Linked DNA regions of Homo sapiens: region 1 is linked to region 2. The links are contacts of gene promoters, found by promoter capture Hi-C in blood cells and fetal thymus (Javierre and others, 2016). All regions are on one chromosome and are shown on one strand. Each heading gives the region's core, a stretch centred on a gene start or on the middle of the fragment in contact. The rest is flanking DNA. Distances are from core to core; before and after follow the strand shown.

Evidence for each region. The method cuts DNA at HindIII sites, captures the fragments that hold promoters and counts their contacts. A CHiCAGO score of 5 or more calls a contact.
Region 1: a fragment that was not itself captured here is called in contact with the fragment with the promoter of RNH1 in region 2 in 2 of 17 cell types (total CD8 T cells and total CD4 T cells); the score reaches 5.5 in total CD8 T cells.

What each region holds. Positions count from the first base shown.
Region 1 is chr11:249,078-254,361 of GRCh38, forward strand. PSMD13 (proteasome 26S subunit, non-ATPase 13) reads left to right here. Exons shown (of 13, transcript NM_002817.4): 10 at 1,726-1,788; 11 at 2,469-2,549; 12 at 2,743-2,859; 13 at 3,428-3,907. The coding sequence ends at 3,523. It also overlaps the pseudogene COX8BP. Among named protein-coding and RNA genes, the nearest start is that of PSMD13, 15 kb to the left of the region's middle. The HindIII fragment of the contact is 753 bases long and covers 2,305-3,057 here.
Region 2 is chr11:505,435-510,190 of GRCh38, forward strand. It overlaps RNH1 (ribonuclease/angiogenin inhibitor 1), which reads right to left and starts at 1,808. Exons shown (of 11, transcript NM_203387.3): 1 at 1,679-1,808. It also overlaps a transcript of LRRC56 not described here. RefSeq lists an enhancer at 1,077-1,246 and a cis regulatory region at 1,162. The HindIII fragment of the contact is 5,455 bases long and covers 1-3,770 here.

The DNA.
Region 1 (5,284 bases), core at 1,431-3,930, 260 kb before region 2:
AGCCCTTATTCCCCCATGTATCTACTCGCTCATACAACAGATGTTCATTGAGCGTCTTCCCTAGGCACACAGGAAAGAACAGGGCAAAGAGGAGACCAAGATAGGCTAGTCCTTGCTCTCATAGAGCAGAGAGTTAAGTGGTTGGTTAGCTACAGCATTACTCAGTGCTGCAGACAAAGAGTGAGGGTGTTCTGAGAAAACAGAATCGAATGTGGGCCCTGCATCTACGCTGGGTGGAGGGGGTGTCACAGAAGATGTAGAAGTCATAGTGACCTAAGGTCTGTGTGACCTTAGGAATGAGTGAAGAGGTACGGGAAGAGTGCACTCAGCGGAGAAAACGGAAAAGTTTAGTATCTTTGCTGAACTGAAAGAGGGATGTGTGAGGCTAACATGAGTGGGTGGGAGAGAGCATGGGATGAAGGAGGAACAAATGCCTGGTGAAGAGAATGGGAGAGCGGTGGGTGCAGGGAGGGGGAGAGCGGCGGGTGCGGGGAGGGGGAGAGCGGCGGGTGCGGGGAGGGGGAGAGCGGCGGGTGCGGGGAGAGGGAGAGGTCCATGCAGGGAGAACAGCCAATTCACCTCAGTGCAAGGGGAGGGCAGGCACTGGGTGAAGTTGTCTCTGGAAGGTGGGAGTTAGGGAAAGGTGCTCAACAAGGGCTTGAGCTTTAATGATAAGTATGTTCTTTTTTAATGAGATTATTAGAAGTAAATATTAATAAAATGTTAACTGTGGTAGGAATTATGGTTATTTTTGTATTTTTCTGAAACTTTCAATTTTCTCAGTTTAAAATAAACTTGTAAAATTCATGCATAGTGGAGCAGGGTAGATATAGATGAAGGCACTGTGAAGAGGCAGAAAGCACAGATGCAGCCAGACCTAACTGTGGTCTGATTATTTATTGATATCTCAAAAAAAGGTGACACTCAGAAAGGAAGATGGCTAGTTATAGCAATTTAAAGAAAAAAAAAAAATCGTAGATGCATGTTGGCAGCATCTATTCAGGCAGCAAAGCCTGTCTGGAGGGGTAGTGAGCCCTTTACAGAGCTTGACCTGTCCAGTACTTGTGGCAGAAATGTCCCCATCGGGGCTACCTGTGTCAGGATATGAGTTGCTATTTGAATTAAAACAACAAGTCTCCTTGGTTTAATTCTGTGCTCACAGGTAACGTTTTGATCCATAAGAAGAGATGATGCATATCTTGCAGAAGCGTATATTCTAGTTCTCAGGACAATGATATTTTTCATTATAAATTAATAACTTGCTCTTTTGATTCAGAACAAGTCTCTAGAACTTAAGGAAGCTTTTCCTCAGAGGGGCTCCACTTGCACTGGCTCACTGAGCCGGCAGCAGCCCTTGAAAGAACCCCCCTGGGCAGTAGGGTGTATCCTTCCCAACAGCACCTTGACCAGGAGAGTCTTCTCGAAATGCCCGTACCCTGTGGCCCTGCCTAATGGTGTCTGTAGCATTAATACAAATCTTACCTTGTAAATTCCTTGCCTTGACAAAGTGTCCCAGTTAGGTGCGACTCTTTCCATTTCCTAAGAAGAATGAAGCTCAGATCACTTGTTGTTAATGAGCTTCAGCAGTCTGCAATGTGAAATGTTTGGATCTGCTTAGCTGGTTTTTGTTGGGTCTACTGTTATAGAACGAATTCCAGATCCCCAGTTAAGTAACTGATAAGCACAAACATGGAAGACATTTTTCTGTCTTTCTATACTTTACAGCCTGATTTAGCAGCTAATGAAGCCCAGCTTCTGAGGAAAATTCAGTTGTTGTGCCTCATGGAGGTAAGCGAACACCCAGGAGCCACTTTGTCTGTGGTTTCAGATTTTGGTCAGGTGGGGGCGCTGCACTCTCCAAGCCTGTGCTGAGCAGTGTGAGCTTTCAGTGGTGCTGCTTCTGCTGTGCGCCGCTCTCTTCACCACCTTCCTTTTCCTTTGCTACCACTTGCTCTTCTAAGTTTATATTTGGCTCTTAGCTCAGACGACACCCTCCCACCCCACTGCCACCACCCTGAGGCCTTCCCTGACCATCTGAACTGAGATGAAGTAGCTGCCCCTCTCCCCGTGATGCAGTTGTTGCCTCATTGCATGTCGCTTCTTGTGTACACGCACATCTGTCTTTCCCCACTAGAACTTAAGCTTCGTCAGGAAGTGGCCCTTAGATTTCTGGTTTGCCGTGGTCACCCCTGGTCAACCCTGGCAAATTGTGGCCTCAAGTACTTGTTCGGGGATTGAACAATGGCTACTGTCAGAAACTCCTGTAAGGCATTTTGCTGTTATCCTTCTTATCTAAGCATTAAAAGCTTGTTCTTAACAAGATATATGTCTAATATTAGGAAACTTTTTAGTATGTGGGGTACTAATAAGATCTCTATTTTCAGAGCCAATATTGACAAAACATCCTTATCAGTTCTCTATTTTTATTTGGAAAAATAGTTTAAAATAGTTAATAAAATTTTTTCCAGATGACTTTCACACGACCTGCCAATCACAGACAACTCACTTTTGAAGAAATTGCCAAAAGTGCTAAAATCACAGTGAATGAGGTACGGTCCCTAGGCTCAGGGTGTTAGAGCAGCAAAGCTGCCACATGGAGGAGTCAAGGCTCTTGTGTGAGCGCTGTGCTCCCTAGACAGTAAAAAATGACGGGAGGAGCGGCATCTGCTTCTCACAAGCCATCTGGGTCCATGGGGGTGTGTCAGGCTATCTTGTCTTACACACGCCTCCCTCTCTGCACAGGTGGAGCTTCTGGTGATGAAGGCCCTTTCGGTGGGGCTGGTGAAAGGCAGTATAGACGAGGTGGACAAACGAGTCCACATGACCTGGGTGCAGCCCCGAGTGTTGGATTTGCAACAGGTGATGTGTTTGAAACCCATTATTCACCTCTGTGGATTTTGAGGGGTTGTGTCTATACCGTCTTAGTTTCATTTGGATGGAAGCCATTTGGGAAGACAGCATTATTAGACAAGAGGTTTTGGAGAAGGAAATACTGCTGTTGGGTTTTTCTAAGAGCCTAATTTAATGCAAGCCTAGGGTTTGAACCCTGCATTTAAAAGCTTATGATGACAATGGCACTGGTTGTGCTGACGGTGCCTTTTAATCTTAAGATAGGAGCTCTGATCAGATACGTTCCTGGTTCTGTGATTTGAGCTCACGTCGCTCTTACATTTGCTGGAAATGCGATCCTGTGGATTTCCTCTGTCCTTGTCTGCTTTCTTTCATGCAAGTTTTTTCTAACGTTCCTGTGAAAAGAATTAACCCGGCAAGTCCCGTCCCACTCCCCCAGCTCAGAGGTCCTTTTTACTAGAGCTGCCCTAGAGAGTTAGCTGGAGATGTAGAGTCACCCCATCAGGTGCTGTGCCGGCCGCTCGGCCTGTGTCTCCTGCGTGTCTTAACGTCCCTTGTGTCCGGATTTCCATTTCAGATCAAGGGAATGAAGGACCGCCTGGAGTTCTGGTGCACGGATGTGAAGAGCATGGAGATGCTGGTGGAGCACCAGGCCCATGACATCCTCACCTAGGGCCCCCTGGTTCCCCGTCGTGTCTCCTTTGACTCACCTGAGAGAGGCGTTTGCAGCCAATGAAGCTGGCTGCTCAGACGGTCGACATTGAATTTGGGTGGGGGTTGGGATCCTGTCTGAAGTACAGACTGTTCTTGCTCTAAAAACAGGACTGTCCCTGATGGGAGCCAGGCCACAGGGAGGAGGCTTCTTTGTGGGTCTCTCCTGCAGAGGGTGGGGGTCTCAGGGTCTTAGGTGATACGGGAGAGAAAGAACGTGCCAGGCAGGAGGCCCCCTGAAGTCTGTGTACTCCGAGGTGGATCTCCATCCCCATCCACCTGTACGGACATCTTTTCCGTTGCGGTTTGAGAATGTTCCTATAATAAACCCCTCTGCTTTGTTCTTCTTGTGGCTCTGTTTTCTTGGGCTTAGCTTCCAGGCCAAGCCTGTGCCTGGAGGTTAAAAAGCATGAGTTGGAACCTTGGGAAGACACGGTGGGGGTAGCCTTGGCCCTTCTCCTCCCTGCACATACAGTAGACGGGCAGAATCCAGCACCAAGGACTAACGAAGACGCTGGTCCTATCTTTATTGTTAGTCAAGAGAGACCTAGGGGTATCCACTCCCTTCTCCAGCCCTCTCAGGTACCTGCCCCGACACAGGCATCCATCCACATCCTTGTCACCACTCATCATTCAAATAGCCACCAGCATCTGTGACCTGGTGTGCCCCAGTGCGGACATGAGCCATCCCTGGGACTGGGCATGTAAAGGAAACCACCTTGAGGTTCCCCGTCTGGGAGTGGAGGTGCACGTACACAAAGAATCACAGAGTGAACATTAGGTGGAAGGACAGTTTAATGTGATCTTTCAGTCCTGGGCCTGCAGTGACAGCATGGAGCTCTTGCAGCTCTCCAGGTCGGGTGAGACCCAGCCTCCAGGAACCAGGAAGCTGATGAATGTGAGAGCCCCACGGCCTGCTCCTGTTGGAGGAAAGCACCCACAAGTCTGCTAGGCTGGCAAAGAACAGTTGTCCGGCATCTTCTCCAGCCTTTTCCTCTTTGGTTGCTGGTGTCTGAGCTCCTGGTTTTTTCCACCTCGTCCAGGCCTCGCCTGACCTCATGGCCCCAGACCCCTCTCGGTCTTTCCACCCACCCTCTCCAGACCTCGTTTGGCCCTGGTCCAGATGGCCTGACACCCCAGCTGTTCCTCGTCAGTCACAATTGCTGGGATCTATTGACCACTAGCCTTTATACCCACCTCACTGTCAAGTTCCCAAGGCCCTGTGGTGCACCCTTCAACCTTCCGCAGCCCCTCTCAGCTGCTCAGGCCAAATGTCTTAGTGTGAGCCTCCATTTCCCTCAGACACTCATGTGTACATCGAGCCCGCTGACTCCCCACCCTCCCTAAGTCCAGCCTCAAACCTGTCCTCCATAACCGCTCCTCCACACAGCAGCCCAGACAGTCTTCCAGAACAATCAGGTCTTGTTGCTGCCGCTGCTCAGCATCCTCCAACAGGCTTCACTCACCCCCAAGGCCTGAGTGCTCTGACCACTGCCTGCCTTGCTGGTCCTGCTCCTACCCTCATCTGCTCTCCCTGCACCCCACCAAGGCTCCTGCCTCATCCCAGACATGAGCTGATCACAGCCCAGAGAGACACAATTCTGCATGCTGAAATCCCGAAAAATCAAAATTCTGAAAATATATTTCTGGAAAAAATAATTTTAAAATTATTTAAAAGATATTTATTTACTTTTTTTTCATTTTTTTATTTTTGAGACGGAGT
Region 2 (4,756 bases), core at 558-3,057:
GGTTTTGAAGATGGAAGAAGGTGGCCTCTAGAAGTTGGAAGAGGAAAAGAAGCAGATTCTCCTTGGGAAACTCCAGAAGGAACTACCCTTGCCAACACCTTGATTTTAACCTCCTAAAACTCACTTCGGGCTTCTGAGCTCCAGGCCTATAAAACAGCCTGTGACAAATTCGTTATAGCAGGGATGAGAAAATAGCTCACTGCAGCCTCCTCTTCCAGGGCTCAAGTGCTCCTCCTCCCTCAGCGTCCCAAGTAGCTGGGACTACAAGCGTTCACTACCGCAACTGGCTAATTTTTTCTATCTTTTGTAGAGACGGGGGTCTCACTATTTTGGCCAAACTCAGTATGTTGGTCGCAAACTCCTGGGCTCAAGAGATCCGCCCGCCTCGGCCTCCCAAAGTGCTGGGATTACAGGCTGCAGCGCACCCAGCCTAATGTAACTTTTTTTTTTTTTTTTTTTTTTTGAGAAGGAGTTTCGCTCTTGTCAGCCGGCTGGAGTGCAGTGGCACGATCTCGGCTCACCGCAACCTCCGCCTCCTGAGTTCAAGCCATTCTCCTACCTCAACCTCCCAAGTAGCTGGGATTATAGGCGCCTGCCACCACGCCCGGCTAATTTTGTATTTTTAGTAGAGACGGGTTTTCACCATGTTGGCCAGGCTGTTCTCGAACTCCTGACCTCAGGTGATCCGCCTGCCTCTGACTGCCCGGCCCAGTGTAACTGTTAACGGCAACATCGTGTGCAGTCTCCGGCTTGCATTCGGTTTAGTCAGCCAATCGCTAAGACGACACTTGAGACCGTTTTCAGATCTTTAGGCTTTCCACCATCCTAGAAGGGGGCCTGCCTGGTTCTAAGGCCCTTCTGAAACACTGCCAAACTGTCCTCGGGAAACGGTGCAGAAGTCCTCTGGTTTCCCCCAAGGCGCGTGGGCACCTTGGCTGGAACCTCGCCCAGTAACACGACGTGCCTGGGGCCCCTTCGTCATTTCCGCCAACCCCGGTGACAACCCTGACACCGGCCCCTAAGTGCCATTCCAGTTATGTTGCTCTCCTCCCCGCAGCCCCAGGCGGCAGCTTCGCGGCCCGGCGTCCGGTCCCCCGGTGGTCCCGGAGCGAAGCTCCGCAATGGAGAGCGGAGGACCCTCCCTCCCCGACCTCGCACGACCAAGACCGCCCACCTTTCCCCCAACGCCCGGCTGTGGGAGCCGTTCGAGTCTTCTCCGCCAGGGCGCTCCTTCCCGGGAGGCCGCTTCTTTGGGGGAATAAGGTCAAGGATTACGGGATTTGGGGAAGCAAGCTCGGCTGGGCCAGGATTGCTTGCGTAGCTCGCTGGAATCTAAGGCACTAGAGGGCTTGACGGCCACGTGAGGACGAACCACGCAGGCGCAGCCCCGCGCCCCGGGCAAGGACTTCCGGCAAGCCCCAAAGGGGAGCGTGCACCGCGATGACGTCCTCAAGGCGCGCCACGTCCGCCCGGCGGCGCAGCTGCCCAGCGCAACCTCGGCCCCGCCTCGATAGCCCCGGACCCCTGCCCCGCCCGACCCCGCCCCGCCACGGGAGCGCGCCACTCGCCCGCGCAGCAACGGCCTCAATAGCGCCAGGCCCGCGTCTACAAGAAGCCCGACCAAGGCCGGCGTGGGCGAGGCCTGGCTAGACGCTGACGCACCGCTGGAGCTACTGACCTCGGGACGACTGGCGGACGGTCGCGGGCCTGGAGACCCAGAGCGAGACGGCCTACTTCGTTCTCGAGCCAGCAGAACGGGTTGAACGTGTCGACAACCCCACCCGCCAGTCAGCGGCGCGGGCGTGTTCGAGCCGGCTCGTGGGCGTGGTCAGGTGCGTGGGCGGGGACTACTGGGCGGGGCTCGGCGCGGGGGCGGGGCCTGGCGGGAGTAGTCTCGGGGTCGGGGCGGGGCCCGGCGGGCGGGGCTCGGCTAAGCACAGTCTTGGCGCAGCGGCGGGGCCTGGTGGGGCGTGGCTCGGTGAGGGAGGTCTCGCTTGGGGGCGTGGTCTCCCCCAGTAGGCGGGGCTTGGTGCCGGGGGCGGGGTCTGGCGGGCGCGGGCGCGTGTGCGTGTTGTGGGCCTCGCACTGGCACGCAAGTCTCAGCAATTCCTGAGAATCCTCGGAGGAAGAGGCCGGGGCCCGGTGCGGCAGCGCCTTGGGGGCGGAATCGCAGGCGCGGGTCGGGCCTTGCTGGGGCGCGGGGCGCGGCCCCCGGAGAAAGCGGCCGCCTCGGGACAGGAGGGACCCGGGAGAAACCCCCCTGGGGCGGCTCCGCATGTCGGGGTCGCGACTCTAGGCGACCTTGGTAGAGGGGCTCGTTTGCGCCGAGCTCGCGACCCCCGAGGGAGCCACGGCCCCGTGAACCACGCTGCCCGTCCTGGCCACTGGCTGCCGCCTTTGTTTCGTGGGACCCCAGCCCGCAAGGCCTGCGGAGCCGCGGCCTCGTCCCGAGTGTTCTGAGCGCGGTCCGAGCTGCTCCTGCGTCCACTCTGCTGCCGACACCCGAGCGTCGCCTGGAGCCCTGGCACTGAGGGGCGCAGGCCGAGTTCCAGACCAGCCTGGGAAACGCAAAGCGACCCCACCTCCACAAAAGTGGGTTTTCTTTAAGTTTTTGACTAGTCCGCAATTCACAGAATTGACATTTTGGCAGATGAAGATTGCAAGTAAGGAAACTAACGGTATCTCAGATTTGTTCTTTAGCAATTTGCTAAACCTCTCCTCTGACTGCCTTTATTAGGTATTTGTTTTCGAGACAGGGTCTCACTCCACTGCTTAGGCTGTACTGCAGTGGCGCGATCCCAGCTCGCTGCAGCCTCCACCTCCCGGACTCCAGTGATCCTCCCGCCTCAGCCTCCCAAGTAGCTGGTACCACAGGCGCCAGCACGCCTGGCTAATTGTTGTATTTTATGTAGAGAAGAGGTCTCCCTGTGTTGCCCAGCCTGGTCTTGAATTGGGCTCAAGTGATCCTCCTGCTTCAGCCTCCCATATCGCTGGAATTACTGGCATAAGCCACTACACCCGGCCTGATCATCTTTAAAGAAGGTGGTTCTGGCCGGGCGTGGTGGCTCACACCTGTAACCCCAACACTTTGGGAGACCGAGAAGGGTGGATCACCTGAGGTCAGGAGTTCAAGACCAGCCTGGCCAACGTGGTGAAACCCCATCTCTACTAAAAATACAAAAATTAGCCAGGCATGGTGGTGGGCACCTGTAATTCCAGCTACTTGGGAGGCTGAGGCAGGAGAATCGCTTGAACACGGGAAGCAGAGGTTGCAGCGAGCCTAGACCACACCATTGCACTCCAGTTCGGGCAACAAGATGAAACTCTGGCTGGGCGCGGTGGCTCACACCTGTAATTCCAACACTTTGGGAGGCCAAGGCAGGCAGATCACCTGAGGTCAGGAGTTCAAGACCAGCCTGGCCAAGATGATGAAACCCCATCTCTACTAAAATTACAAAAACTTAGCCAGGCATGGTGGTGCATGCCTGTAATCCCAGCTACTCAGGAGGCTGAGGCAGGAGAACCACTTGAACCCAGGAGGCAGAGGTTGCAGTGAGCCAAGATCGTGCCACTGTACTCCAGCCTGGGCAACAAGAGCGAAACTCCATCTCAAAAAAGAAAAAAGAAACTCCGTCTCAAAAAGAAGGTGGTTCACACACACACACACACACCCCCAAGAAAGCTCAGGGCTGGAAGGCAGCCAACCTGGCTGTGACCCTCATCCTGCACACGTGAGCTTGGTGACCAGTAGCTGATTCTTTAACTCTCTAAGCTTTGGAGTCTGGATGTGAGGTTTAGAATTCATGACAAGAAGCTGGAAGGATGCCGCCAGTCTGACTCCTGGACTGGTTCTCTTGACATCTTTGCAAAAGCTGCTGAAATGTTCTGGTTTCATTTCATTCTTTTCTTTGCCATGATCTCTTAGATTTGTTCGTGGCAATTCTCATAAGAGTGAAGAAAATGTTTAAAATGGCTGTTGGGCTCCCTTTTGTGACACCTTGTGGGGAAGGTGCCCAGGTATGTATAGGTGCTGAGCGCACGGCCAGCATGGTGTCTGTGGCCGGGCCTCCCTCCTGGACAGTGCGGCCACAGCCCCTGAAAGGTATGTCTTCATTTTTATTTTATTTTATTGAGATGGAGTCTCGCTCTGTCGCCCAGGCTGGAGTGCAGTGGCGCGATCTCGGCTCACTGTAAGCTCCGCCTCCCAGGTTCAAGCCATTCTCCTGCCTCAGCCTCCCGAGTAGCTGGGACTACAGGCACCTGCCACCACGCCCGGCTAATTTTTTTTTTTTTTTTTTTTTTGTAATTTTAATAGAGACAGGGTTTCAGCGTGTTAGCCAGGATGGTCTCGAGCTCCTGACCTTGTGATTCGCCCGCCTCAACCTCCCAAAGTGCCTGGCCTTCATTTTTATTTTTGAACTTACCTGCCTCACCTCGTTATGTCTTTATCTTATTTTTAAACTTACTCAGTTCACCCACTGTGGAATTGGGAGTATATGGAAGTATTCCCACCCCCAGTTTTATATACCGCCCCAGAGCTGACCATTCTCGCTCATTTCCCCGGGTCCTGGCCGACTCGAGTGTGCCTTTCCTTCCGATCCTGCTCCACACAGATCTGAGGGATGCTGCCCTTTCCTTCTCCACCTGCCCCTCCCTCACATCCAGCCCCACCAGCCTACACGTTAGCTTAAATAGGGAGCTTTTACATTCCCCATGAAAGGGAATCCAGGGACAGGCTGAGGCAAGAGACCCCCAG